2 separate regions of the Homo sapiens genome follow, and region 1 is linked to region 2. The links are contacts of gene promoters, found by promoter capture Hi-C in blood cells and fetal thymus (Javierre and others, 2016). All regions are on one chromosome and are shown on one strand. The core of a region is centred on a gene start or on the middle of the fragment in contact, and the rest is flanking DNA. Distances in the headings are between cores, read along the strand shown.

What was found. The method cuts DNA at HindIII sites, captures the fragments that hold promoters and counts their contacts. A CHiCAGO score of 5 or more calls a contact.
Region 1: the fragment with the promoter of RPS20 here is called in contact with the fragment with the promoter of ATP6V1H in region 2 in 6 of 17 cell types (naive CD8 T cells, non-activated CD4 T cells, naive CD4 T cells and 3 more); the score reaches 22.4 in naive CD8 T cells.

Annotation. Positions count from the first base shown.
Region 1 is chr8:56,072,664-56,079,617 of GRCh38, reverse strand. RPS20 (ribosomal protein S20) reads left to right here and starts at 5,112. Exons shown (of 4, transcript NM_001023.4): 1 at 5,112-5,237; 2 at 5,459-5,558; 3 at 5,850-5,923; 4 at 6,346-6,564. The coding sequence starts at 5,235. The coding sequence ends at 6,528. It overlaps SNORD54 (small nucleolar RNA, C/D box 54), which reads left to right and starts at 5,717; the gene lies at 5,717-5,779. It overlaps CERNA3 (competing endogenous lncRNA 3 for miR-645), which reads right to left and starts at 5,026. Exons shown (of 2, transcript NR_149110.1): 1 at 4,738-5,026; 2 at 4,344-4,611. The HindIII fragment of the contact is 15,741 bases long and covers 1-5,384 here.
Region 2 is chr8:53,841,167-53,847,480 of GRCh38, reverse strand. It overlaps ATP6V1H (ATPase H+ transporting V1 subunit H), which reads left to right and starts at 4,236. Exons shown (of 14, transcript NM_015941.4): 1 at 4,236-4,447; 2 at 5,756-5,903. The coding sequence starts at 5,791. RefSeq lists enhancers at 2,801-2,850, 4,148-4,287 and a silencer at 3,928-4,077. The HindIII fragment of the contact is 7,596 bases long and covers 1,151-6,314 here.

The DNA of each region.
Region 1 (6,954 bases), core at 3,863-6,362, 2.2 Mb before region 2:
TTAATAATATTTTATTATACTTTAATAATAAAATAGGACAATGGTAGTCATATACTGTAATAAAATTATGTGAATGTGGTCTCTCTGATTTCAAAGTATCTTATTGAACTGTGCTGCAGGTAACTGAAACCTCAGAATGTGAAACCAGGGATAAGGTGGGGACTACTGTTGTGTCTAAACAGACTCATCCACATTCATTCCACAATTTGCCTTTTTCAATGTGATTCAGACATTTACACATGTGTACCATGAATTCAGTAGTTTTTGACTGCTGTAAATTTCCTTTTGGAGAAAGTAGGATGACACTGTCATTGCAGTGAAAGACCAGTAGATGGCCATCCACAGACCCACACAAATACCTGCAGTATTTACAAGATAATTGTCTTTACAAGATAATTGTCTTTACAAGATAATTTTAAAAGATCTGCAAAAATTAGTAAAGAAAGGCTATACATAGGGATATTGAAAACACAAATTTCATAAAGTTGTTAGGAATATTTCAAAAGTTAAAATGAACCTGCTATCTAATTCAATGTTTTTCACACCGAAATCCTCATTCGGCTGTTGGAGGAAATATCTGTTTGGGTACAACCTTCCCAGAAGGCAACTTACTTAATACCAAAGTATTTTAAATGTGCTTATTCTTTGATTAAGCCATCAGAGGATAAGTTATTTAGTAATTGACCTAAGGCATTAAGTAGGAGCTAAAATATTCATCTACAATAGTGGCTCTCAACCGGGCATTATTTTTACCCACAGGGACTGTTGACAATGTCTGGAGGCATGTTTGATTGTCACCAGTGGAGGAGTGGGGTTGCTCCTAGCACCTAGTGAGTATAGAGGCCAGAAATGTCGCCAAACCTCCTAAATGCGTAGGACAGTCCCCCAAAGCAAAGAATTATCCGGCCCCCAAAATGTCCATTGTGCTGAGATTGAGAAACCCTGATCTACCAGGATTTACCTCATGATATTGTTTATAGACTGCAAAATGGGAAAACCAGCCTAAATGCCTAAAAACAGAAGACAGGTTCAACAAATCCTAAAAGAATCATTCATACAATTCATGATAACACCGTCATTAAAAGACATGTTGGCCTGGCGTGGTGGCTCATGCCTGTAATCCCAGCACTTTGAGAGGCCAAGGCCAGTGGATCACCTGAGGTCAGGAGTTCGAGACCAGCCTAGCCAACATGGCAAAACACTGTCTCACCTGAAATACAAAAGTTAGCCGGACGTGGTGGTGGGTACCTGTAATCCCAGCTACTCGGGAGGCTGAGGCAGGAGAATCACTTGAACCTGGGAGGCAGAGGTTGCAATGAGCTGCGATCATACCACTGCACTCCAGCCTGGGCAACAGAGCAAGACTGACTCCTCAAAAAAAAAAGAAAAGAAAAGAAACATACATTGAATGATGGAATTATGTATTTTCTTCTTATTTTTGGCTTATTGTTGTTACTTTTTTCTCCAATGGATATCTCACATCTAGTATTCAAACATAACTTTTTTTTTTTTTTTGAGATGGAGTTTCGCTCTTGTTGCCCAGTCTGGAGTGCAATGGCACGATCTCGGCTCACTGCAACCTCTGCCTCCTGGGTTCAAGCGATTCTCCTGCCTCAGCCTCCCGAGTAGCTTAGATTACAGGAGCCCGCCACCACACCCGGCTAATTTTTGTATTTTAGTAGAGACAGGTTTTCAGCACGTTGGTCAGGCTGGTCTCGAACTCCGATGTCAGGTGATCCACCCACCTCGACCTCCCAAAGTACTGGGATTACAGGTGTGAGCCACCGCGTCTGGCCCAAACATAACATTTCAAAGAGAAATTGGGGGCCACAGAAGCTGCTAGTTTTCAAGAGAAAAATACGGCAAAGTGTTTGAAACTAAAACTAATAAACTTTAAAATTCCCAAACCTCACTAGATCCCACCTCCTGACTCTAGTAGTCTACTGTCTGCTTCTACAAATTTGACTTTTTTTGACTCCACATATAAGTGAACTCACACAGTATATTTATCTTTAGTAGAGACAGGGTTTCACCATGTTGGCCAGGCCGATCTCGAGCTTCTGACTCCAGGTGACCTACCCGCCTCAGCCTCCCAAAGGCTAGGATTACAGGTGTGAGCCACCATTCCCGGCCAGAATTTCCTTCTTTTTTAAGGCTGAATAATATTGATCCATTCAGGCTGGGCACGGTGGCTCACACCTGTAATCCTAGCACTTTGGAAGGCTGAGGTGGGCAGATAACCTGAGGTCAGGAGTTCAAGACCAGCCTGGCCAACATGGTGAAACCTCGTCTCTACCGAAAATACAAAAATTAGCCGGGCATGGTGGTGCCTGCCTGAACTTCCAGCTACTTGGGAGGCTGAGGCAGGAGGATTGCTTGAACCCAGGAGGTGGAGGTTGCAGTGTGCCGAGATCGCACCACTGCGCTCCAGCCTGAGCAACAGAGTAAGACTCTGTTTCCAAAGAAAAAAAAGATCCATTCATCTGTTGCTGGACACCTAGGTCATTTCCTGACCTTAGCTACTGTAAATAATGCTGCAATAAACATGGGAGTGCAGGTATCTCTTCTAGATACCAATTTCATTTTCTTTGGGTATATACCCAGAAGTGGGATGGCTGGTTCACATGGAAGTTCCATTTTTAATTTTTTGAGGACCCTCCATACTGTTTTCCAAAAAAAAAAAATTTCCATTACTTTTGTCTAATATTATCTTAACCATTTGTTTCCTTAGTTCTAGTCACATCAGCCATTTTTCACATACCTGCTGGGCCACATTTTGCTTTTCTCTATAAAGAAATTTCCTCGTTTACTATCAAAGTAGTTAACTTGTTCACCAGTTCCTCAAATACTTAAAGGATGAGGTAAGCCTAAGAAAAAGATGTACCAGATTTGTTATAAAAAAAAAATCACACTTGTACAAAATTACAATTGTACTTCTCAATGAAATTCCTTCATTGAATTTCCAGTCATCTTTGAGCATTAGTAAAACATGAATGCCGCTGTATATGTTCACTTAAAATATGCACAGTCACCTCCAGGCAGTACTACAGCGGTGGCTGATCACACCCCAGGGAGCAGGGCAATTGTGCTTTTGTCTATTTGTCGCACACAGCCATACCAATAAGTTAAACCTCTAAGTTATGAAGTCTCAGGTTACAGCTAGCACAATAAGAATGCAGGTTTTCAGAATTTCTGCTGAAAATTCTACTAAGAGAGTATTTACAGACAATGGATTACATTTAAAAATAACTGAACTGGGGCCGGGATAGGTGGCTCACACCTGTAATCCCAGCACTTTGGGAGGCCAAGGCAGGCAGATCGCGAGTTCAGGAGATTGAGACCATCCTGGCTAACACGGTGAAACACCGTCTCTAGTAAAAACACAAAAAATTAGCTGAGAGTGGTGCCACGTGCCTGTGGTCCCAGCTACTCGGGAGGCTGAGGCAGGAGAATTGCTTGAACCCAGGAGGTGGAGGTTGCGGGGAGCCAAAATCGTGCCACTGCATCCAGCCTCGGCGACAGAGCGAGACTCCATCTCAAAAAACAAACAAACAAAAAACCCAAAAAACTGAACTGGAAAACATCCAAATTTGAAAATTTAAAATAATTGTTAAAATGGCAGCAAAAAACCTCATACGTATCGTGAGCCAAAGAAACCCAGTTATTAGTTATGTTCCAATTATCACCAAATAAGACAATGCTATTATTTGATTAAAGTTTCAAACATAATTTCCTACCAAGGAACAGAAGACAAAACCTCAAGAAAGAGTCCTGACGGGGCGAGCGCGGTGGCTCACGCCTGTAATCCCAGCACTTTGGGAGGCCGAGGCGGGCCTGAGATCTGGAGTTTGAGACCAGCATGATCAACATGGAGAAACCCCGTCTCTACTAAAAAAAAAAAAAAAAAAAAAAAAATTAGCCGGGCATGGTGGCGCATGCCTGTAATCCCAGCTACTCCGGAGGCTGAGGCAGGAGAATCGCTTGAACCCAGGAGGCGGAGTTTGCGGTGAGCCGAGATCGCGCCATGGCACTCCAGCCTGGGCAACAAGAATGAAACTCCGTCTCACAAAAAAAAAAAAACAAAACAAACAAAAAAAAAAAACAACAAACAGGCCTGGACGGAGGGGTCAGAGCTCTGTCCCTCCCCATTTCAGAGTGTTTGAGCAAATAACTCTTTCGGCTCAGAGCTTCAGGTGGAAAGTAATATGAGATGATTTTACTCTTCTTTCTGCCCTGTATCAAAATCCATCTCAGTGATTTCCACGTATTTAGCCCCGGCTTCTTGCTCAGGTGTAGGTGAGCTCACCCTGCGCTCTCTCCCACTGCTCAGCTCAGTTGACCATTCGGGTTTTCCACTATACTTGGTCACTTATGTGATTATGAACAGATGTTCAGTATTAAGAAGACCCTGGGGGATCTTATCCAATGACTTTATCCAACAGAAAGGAGATGAGGTATCAGGACTGGGTGGCTAGCCAGGTTCCAGGCCGGGCCTCAGGATAGCTGCGCAGCCTGGCATTTTCGCCTCACTTTCCAGAAGGACGAGAAGCCAAGTTCAGGTCCTTTCCAGAAATAGATGTAGATACTTCTGCTGGACTGGGAAGCCAGGAGCTGAAATATCACAACAGGACGTTTCAGGCTATGAAAAATAACTGCTTACTAATTCTAACGTAAGTTATCCAGATTACGAGAAGCATTTCTGCCAATGCTCATGTCAGCTAAGCTCAGAGAAGTTACCTCATCCTCAGAGAGCAACGAATGGTATGGTCTATGTAGAAAGCAAAATTTGCAACGGAAAAACCAGAGTTCGTGTGCACTTTATGAGGAAGAGGGTTAGGTGCACCAGACAGAGGAGTTTCTCAGGTTTCCGTGTCGCCTGTTCTCTCGACCAGGTGGCCCTCTCGGCGCAGGCGGGGACCCCACCCTGCGGGACTTCGGCTCCTCCGTGCGGACAGGGGGCGCCCGCAGCCGTGCCTTTCCCGCCAACTCCACTAGTGCTCCAGCTCGCCCTTGTGCGACCGCCTCTAGGGCCCGGGATATTTCCTGTTCCGGGGCGTGTGGGACCCGGATGCAAGCGTGCTATATAAGCGTTGCTCAAGTCCCACCCCTTTCTTTTTGAGGAAGACGCGGTCGTAAGGGCTGAGGATTTTTGGTCCGCACGCTCCTGCTCCTGACTCACCGCTGTTCGCTCTCGCCGAGGAACAAGTCGGTCAGGAAGCCCGCGCGCAACAGCCATGGTGAGGCGGCAGTCGGCGGCGGGCGGCGCAACGCAGGGCTCGGGCGCCGGGGGGACCCCGGTTTCGAGTTCGTGCTCCTGAGGGCAGATGCCGGGGCGTGTAGGGGCGGAAAGGCGCTCCTGAAATGGTGGGGAAACGCGGGAAGCTTCCGGAAGCTGCCTTTCTCCAGAAGTGGCAGACCATTTTTGGCTTATTGTTCTTTTTCATGTATCTAATAATAGGCTTTTAAGGATACCGGAAAAACACCCGTGGAGCCGGAGGTGGCAATTCACCGAATTCGAATCACCCTAACAAGCCGCAACGTAAAATCCTTGGAAAAGGGTCAGTGCATTCGTTATGCGGGGGGGAGGGGGAATTGGGCGAAAAGCGACGAGCTTTACTCGTTAATGTTAGTGTAGAAGGTGGACTGCAAGAACTAAAGTGACAAGTTACTTAAAAAAGTAAAGCGTGGCTTAAAATTGCTTTTACTGTCATACAGCTGGCGATGAGGAGGTACCTATTGTGTTGAGTAACGGTGATAATTTTATACGCTATTCTGAGCCAGCAGAAGTGAAGGCCTTAAGCCGATTTTAATTGTTTCGATTATACTGAGAGGTCTTTTATTTCCTGTAGTGTGTGCTGACTTGATAAGAGGCGCAAAAGAAAAGAATCTCAAAGTGAAAGGACCAGTTCGAATGCCTACCAAGGTAAAGTAAATCGGAGGGGCAGGAAGTAGGAGTTGCTTCCGGATGTTGCATAAATTCAGGTTCTTTAAGGAGTTCGGCTGCCAAAATTGTTAACACTGATGCTGTCTACAAACGCACATAGAAATCGGTGGTAGATTGCGGTTCCTAGTAAGTAGCTAATGTTTAGATATGATTGTTGAATTATTGTTGCTGTGTTCTTGGTGTGCTTTGGTGCTTAACAGGCGCAAGCTCTAAGGGTGGTGTCCTAGCACAGTGAAAACAGACCTGGCATTTTCAACCCATGGTACCTGAAAATCTATTAGTGTAAATTGGAATCATACCAAAGGGAAACTAATGAAATGATTAGAAGTAATGATTTTCCAGATGTTCTAGGGATAAGTATAAAACGATAAACACTTGGTTTCCTTTGTCTTTTGTTACAGACTTTGAGAATCACTACAAGAAAAACTCCTTGTGGTGAAGGTTCTAAGACGTGGGATCGTTTCCAGATGAGAATTCACAAGCGACTCATTGACTTGCACAGTCCTTCTGAGATTGTTAAGCAGATTACTTCCATCAGTATTGAGCCAGGAGTTGAGGTGGAAGTCACCATTGCAGATGCTTAAGTCAACTATTTTAATAAATTGATGACCAGTTGTTAACTTCTGTTGGTTTTTATTCAGAATACTGGCAGATTTTAGGAATATAAAGGTGTACTATGAGACTTCCACTTTTCAGGTGGAATATATGGGTATCTTAGAGTGGTCTATCCTGTTTTCGTTGTCGTTTGAGTCATTTGAAAACTGGATTCCGTTAACTACATAATATGTGAGACCTGACTGGTTTTATTGGACACTGGCAGTTTATAACTTTGGCATACTCTAGATAAATTCTGATTGGTATGGGGTGTTAAGGTTTCTGGGGCGTTTGTAATGCACACCCATGGTTGAGAACCTAGTGCGCTAGTAGGCACGTGTTAAAAAGCTAGTAACTAATATTTTTAAATTAACCAAGTTTAACGTCCTTAAAAAAGGATTAAGTGGCAGAGGCAG
Region 2 (6,314 bases), core at 2,987-5,486:
ACAGAAATGAAACCTACGATCGCACGAAGACTTGCACACAAATGTCTAAAAAATTGAAACAATCTGCATGCCCATTAACTGGTAAGCAGATAAGCAAAATATGGTACATCATACAATGGAATATTATTCAGCCATAAAAAGGAATGAAGTATAGATACATGTTGCAACATAGATAAACCTTGAAAACTTTATGCTAAGTGAAAGAAGTCATCCACAAAAGGCCACATATTGTATGATTACATTTATTAAAGAAATCTCCTGGATAGGCAAATCTTGAGATATAAAAAAATTAGTATTTGCCTAGGGCAGGGGGGTTTTTGGAGAGGAAGAAAGTGACTACTAATGGATAAGAGGTTTCTTTTTAGAGTGACGAAAATGGGCTAAAATTGATTGTGGTGATATTTGTATAGTGCTGTGAATATACTAAAAACCATTGAATTGTACCTTTTAAATGGGTGAGTTACATGGTATGTGAATTACAGCTTAACAAAGCTGTTAAATTTTCTAAAAAGAAAGGCAACTTCCTAAATTGACCAAATGTTTTCGAGTGGGGCAATAAATCTCATACATCATTGCAATTTCAGGAACCAAGCTGCAGTATAGCTGTGTTTTCTGGTGCCAGGTCTCTTGCAAGGCTGCAGTGAAGGTGTTGGCTGCTAACATTTCAAAGCTCAGCTGGGCTCACTTTCAGGCTCACCCATGCAGTTGTCCACATTTGGTTCTTTGAAGCCTGTTGGACTAAGGGCTTCAATTTTCTACTAGTTGTTCACTTGGGGCTATTCTTAGCTTGGTCACATCAGCCTCTTTATGGTTAACAACACAGCACCTTGCTTCATCAGAGTGAGCAAGTGAGAAGAACCTGGGATAATGCAAGCAAGGCAGCTTGCATTGTAACCTGATCTCAGAAGTGACATCCCTTTACTTTTGCCATTTTCTGGTCCTTATAGGAACATCAGTAGATCTAGCCCACACTCAAGAAGAGAGGATTTCACAAGGATATGAGTCATTGGGAGGTGGTGATCATTAAGAGCCATTTCAGAAGCTGTCTACCACATGGACCATATTTTTAAAATGTCAAATTGTGGAGGTTGTCCTTATGGGGCCGATGGTGCAATGCAATGAAATTAACTTACCTGAAAAATCTGAAGCTTGGTTGCCATGAGTATTCAGGACACTGGTATGGAGTGTAAGTGAAAACCAGCATGATTGATGATAGATGTGCTTTGGCAATACCAAAGCAATCAGAAGTTGTTAGGACAGTTGGTTAGAGCACTTTGTGAAGGGGTCATGACGTCACTACTCAGTGTTACCATTAGGCCAAACTAGGCCAGCTTCTTGCAAATGCCTATTGTTCCCAAGGAGACTGTGTGAAAGAATGGAAAAACCATTCTTCCATTAAACTAATAATTTATTCAGTCAGCTATAAAAACTTCTCAAAGTCCTTGTGTAACTGAAGGTAGGCTGGCAGCATAATCTTCACTTGGGGGTGGTAAGTTTTCATGACAAATATTTTAGAATAGGATTTTCTTTGACTAGAACTCTTCTACTTCTGTGGGCAAATATAAGTTCAATTCATACTTGGAAAGAAAAGATTGGAAATGATGGTGTTTATAGCATTCCATATATTTCAGACAGAAGAAATTCCTTTGAAACGTCATATATTTTCTACCTTCTGATGATTCCTAAGTGGTAGATTCCTAGTTTACATCTCCAAACATGTAATCCTATTCTAGTGAAGAATTGAACATTAACTTAATAAATACATTATTAATATTATTTTCTCCTGTCCATATAGATTCATCTAACTTCCCCTTATGTCATTTCTAAATAACAAATCTGAAGCTCAATTTCAAAGAAATTACAAAGTAGCTCAAAGGTTATCTTTCTTATGTCATAATACAGCAGTCCCCAACCCTTTTGGTACCAGGGGCCAGTTTCGAGGAAGACAATTCTTCCACAGACAGGGTGGGAGGTGATGGGGCTGGTTTCAGGATGACACTGTTCCACCTCAGCTCATCAGGCATTAGATTCTCATACAGAGTGTGCAACCTAGATCCCTTGCAATGTGCAGTTCACGATAGGGTTCATGCTTCTGTGAAAATCTACTACCGCTGCTGATCTGACAGGAGGCAGAGTTTAGGCGGTAATGGGGCTTGCCCGCCGCTCACCTCCTGCTGTGCAGCCGGGTTCCTAACAGGCCATGGACCACACCAGTCTGTGGCCCAGGGTATGGGGACCCCAGGTATGTTATATAATTAGGTAACTGAGATCACCGCTATGGTCTGTGTCTCCCCAAAATTCCTGTGTTGAAATCCTAACTCCCAAGGTGATGATATTAGGAGGTGGGACCTTTGGGAAATGATCAGGTCATGAGGGTGGAGCTCTCATGAATGAAATTAATGTCCTTATGAAAGAGACCCCAGAGAGCTCTCTCACCTCTCCACCATGTGAAGCTACAATGAGAAGACAGCAGTTTGCAACCTGGGACAATCCTTCCCAGAACCTCACCATGATAGCACCCCAATTCTGAACTTTCAACCTCCAGAACTGTGAGAAAATGACTTTCTGTTGTTTATAAGCCACCCAGTCTACAGCACTGTTACAGGAGCCTGAATGGACCAAGAAAAATCTCCGATAGAAGTGTTACAGAAATAATGTTAAGAGAGATAATGCCGGGAGTACCTGCCTCTTCTCTTCTCCCTACTCCAGGCAAATTGTCTGGTAATGTTGTGATGCTCGGAGAACGCCAGCCCAGGTGCCTGTGAAGCAGTCCCCTCTGCTCACTGCACTGTTCCTGATTTTGTTCCATAACTTTGTGCCTCTAGGAAAAGAGGAGAGCCTCCCGAAATCTGATGAGACTCGCTGTATCACGCCAGTCTGTGGCTTAGGTGATACAGAAAGGAAATGCGAAGATCAGGCCTCACTGCCAGCTTTGCTCAGTTACACAGAAAACATGCTGTTTCAGCTTTTGGGAGTTTCTTAGTACACGATCGGTTTCTTTTTCTCTTTTATGAAAGTTTTTCCCCTTAGATTTGCTTTCAAAACAACAGACTTTCACTTCTGGCTAAGACAGAATGAGTGACCTAGTACAATCTTTGACACTGTTATTATATATCTTTATTCATAATCAATGCATGATTTTGATTATTCTGACTTTAATTTTACGAGTAAAAATGGGTTGGTTATAAATCCCTTTCAAAGAATTTTTTTTTTTTCTTTTTGAGACGGAGTTTTGCTTTTTCTGCCCAGGCTGGAGTACAATGGTGCGGTCTTGGCTCACTGCAACCTCTGCCTCCTGGGTTCAAGTGATTTTCCTACCTCAGCCTCCCAAGCAGCTGGGATTACAGGCATGCGCCACCACACCCAGCTAATTTTTTGTATTTTTAGTAGAGATGGGGTTTCACCATGTTGGTCAGCTGGTCTCGAACTCCAGACCTCAGGTGATCCACTGGCCTCGGCCTCCCAAAGTGCTGGGATTACAGGAGTGAGCCACCGCGCCCGGCCCCTTTCATTGCTTTTTAAGGAAAACATGCTATCATATATACTTCACCTCCAGGGCAGTACATTCTTACTTTAAGGCAAAGACAGTTGCTGAGGCCTGGACTAGGGGAAAATTTGGGCTCCAGATGGGACTGTTGGATAAAATACCAGACGTCCTGTAAATGTGAATTTTAGATAAACAACGAATAACTTTTTAGTATAAAAGTAAATACTGCAATGGAATTTATTATTTGCTAAATGTGCAACCCTAGGTTAAGAGAGCTTTTCAGACCCACTTCTCAGCCCGAGTTTTCTATTTAAAATCAGAATAAGAACGCCTGCTTCATGGAGCTGTTAAATCCAAATGGAAATTAATTTGAAAGCGCGAAATCAAACTTTTCAAAAGAATGACGGTTACAATAAGAGCGTTTTGGCCTCTGCTAGCTGCTTCCGGGCGGAGGTCCTCGGCCTCCCCTAGGCGAGGCACTAGGTCTGGGGGCGGCGGGTCTTAGCGTGCCCGCCACGCTCGCCGCCTCCCACCTGCCCTGGCTGGCTGGGGCCCGACCCTTGCGTCGCTCCGGGGCCCAAGTTACGGACTCGGGAATCCAGTTGTCCGCACCGAACAAGCCCCGCCGCAGCGCCCGCCCCTCCTCTTGCTGCTTTGGAGTCTCCCGGCTTCCGCCTTCCGCAGCAGTCACGTGCCTCCGATCACGTGACCGGCGCCTCTGTCATTCTACTGCGGCCGCCCTGGCTTCCTTCTACCTGTGCGGCCCTCAACGTCTCCTTGGTGCGGGACCCGCTTCACTTTCGGCTCCCGGAGTCTCCCTCCACTGCTCAGACCTCTGGACCTGACAGGAGACGCCTACTTGGCTCTGACGCGGCGCCCCAGCCCGGCTGTGTCCCCGGCGCCCCGGACCACCCTCCCTGCCGGCTTTGGGTGCGTTGTGGGGTCCCGAGGATTCGCGAGGTAAGGCCGCCCTCGCGTTGTTTGGTCTCAGGCTGCAGACCAGGTCAGGCGACTCTTGCAGTTTCTCCAGCTTGCCTGGTGCGTGCTGGTGTCTCGCCGCTTGGTCCTCTCCTGTTCTTCGGCCCCCGGTTGCCAGATTGCTTTTCTTCCAGGCCTCAACCAGGTTTATTAAGCGAAATTCTGGAGCCTTTCTCGCAGGGGGAAGAAACGTCAGGGGCGGGCAGGAGAGTGGAGGGGGAGGGGTAAAAAGTATACCTTCTCCAGGACTGGGCCACGGCCCTGGATCGCTGGGGGTGCGAGTAGTTCAGGGACTTAGGTAATTGTCTAGAGACACCTTGAGCTACGCCAGGACGGGCCGCTGAGGCTGAGCCTCCTTGGCTGCAGAGTTCCAGCCTGGCCCAGTTGAAGCCTGTTTTTTCCTGGGCCCTGTCGTTCGCGCTGCCCAGGGTTGTTTATACAGCAAATCTTCAGATACAGAGATTAAGTTCCAAATTGATTAAGATCGTTGGAAACCCGGAATATAATTTTGGGTAGGATTTTAACTTCTTTGTGGCCATGGCCGTGAATTTATGTTTTGCAAGTGGCAACCTGTATTTTGCTTTGTGTTAAAATCAGTCGTTTGTATCTGGAAGTTTAGGAGTGAGAATTACATAGAATTTCATTATTGTAGGTTCTTGTCGTCCAGCCAGACCGCCATTGTTGGCTTACCTAAATTGTAATATGTATTTGTTCTAAAACTTTCTCTCCGAATTTTGATTTTGCAAATACTATGAATTTTGTTTGAAAAGGAAAGCACTGTCTTCTAAGAAATTATGTTCCCACTTTGTGTATTTTAATTTGAGTAATTTTCGAAAGGACTTAGAATTTTTAATGTGCCACTTCAAAATGATGCTTAGTAAATGTTTATAAAACTAGCCTTATCCGTACTATTCATATTCTTATTGTTTCTCTATGAGAAAAGTTAACCACAATTGTATAAATTTACAATTTTTCCCATATTTATACCTATTCTATTTAATCATGATTTCTGATTTCAGTATATTAGGTGATTGCTTTAAAAATCTTACTGCAGTGTTAGTGCCAATAATGAAAAAAATTTTTCTAGAAAAGCAAAAGCCTAAAGAACTCTTTTATGGAGCAGTGGACAATATTTGAAATATAATGATACTTTCAGACTTAGGACATTTAATATTTGAGTTGAATGCCTGGGGAGATTAAAGTGATCACGATATTCATAATCATAATATTAATAGTTGTAAAAAAAAGAAACACCTCGTATTCTGTTTTTACCTTGCATCAAAATTGAAGATTTGTTGAAAGACATTCAAGATTACGAAGTTTAGATGACCAAAATGGATATCCGAGGTGCTGTGGATGCTGCTGTCCCCACCAATATTATTGCTGCCAAGGCTGCAGAAGTTCGTGCAAACAAAGTCAACTGGCAATCCTATCTTCAGTAAGTACCAATTTGCTGTGAATCATGGACAGTCATATGCTTTTGCATCAGACTTTTTCATGGTCATGCTTCTATGAGAGAAATACAGGGAAAATACTGAAAAATGTGGAAGAAACACTTCCTCTTCAGAATAATTAGCTGTCTTAGGGAGTTAAGTGTAGTGGGGTGGAAACAGCTTGGCGCCCTAGTGGGGAAGCAGAGCGGCTTATGGTGCTTTTGACCTTCTCTGGCTGCCTGGGGAAGTACTTTTGGAATAAGTGGGAAACATAGGAGGAATGTCCTTGGGCTAACGGAGGGAGGAAGGGGATGAGGGGCAAAACCTGCTAGACTGGTCTGATATGCCCTGGCAATCAGCATGGGGGCAGGTGGCCTTTTTAGAGTGGTGCATACAACTAATAAGAAGCACAGATA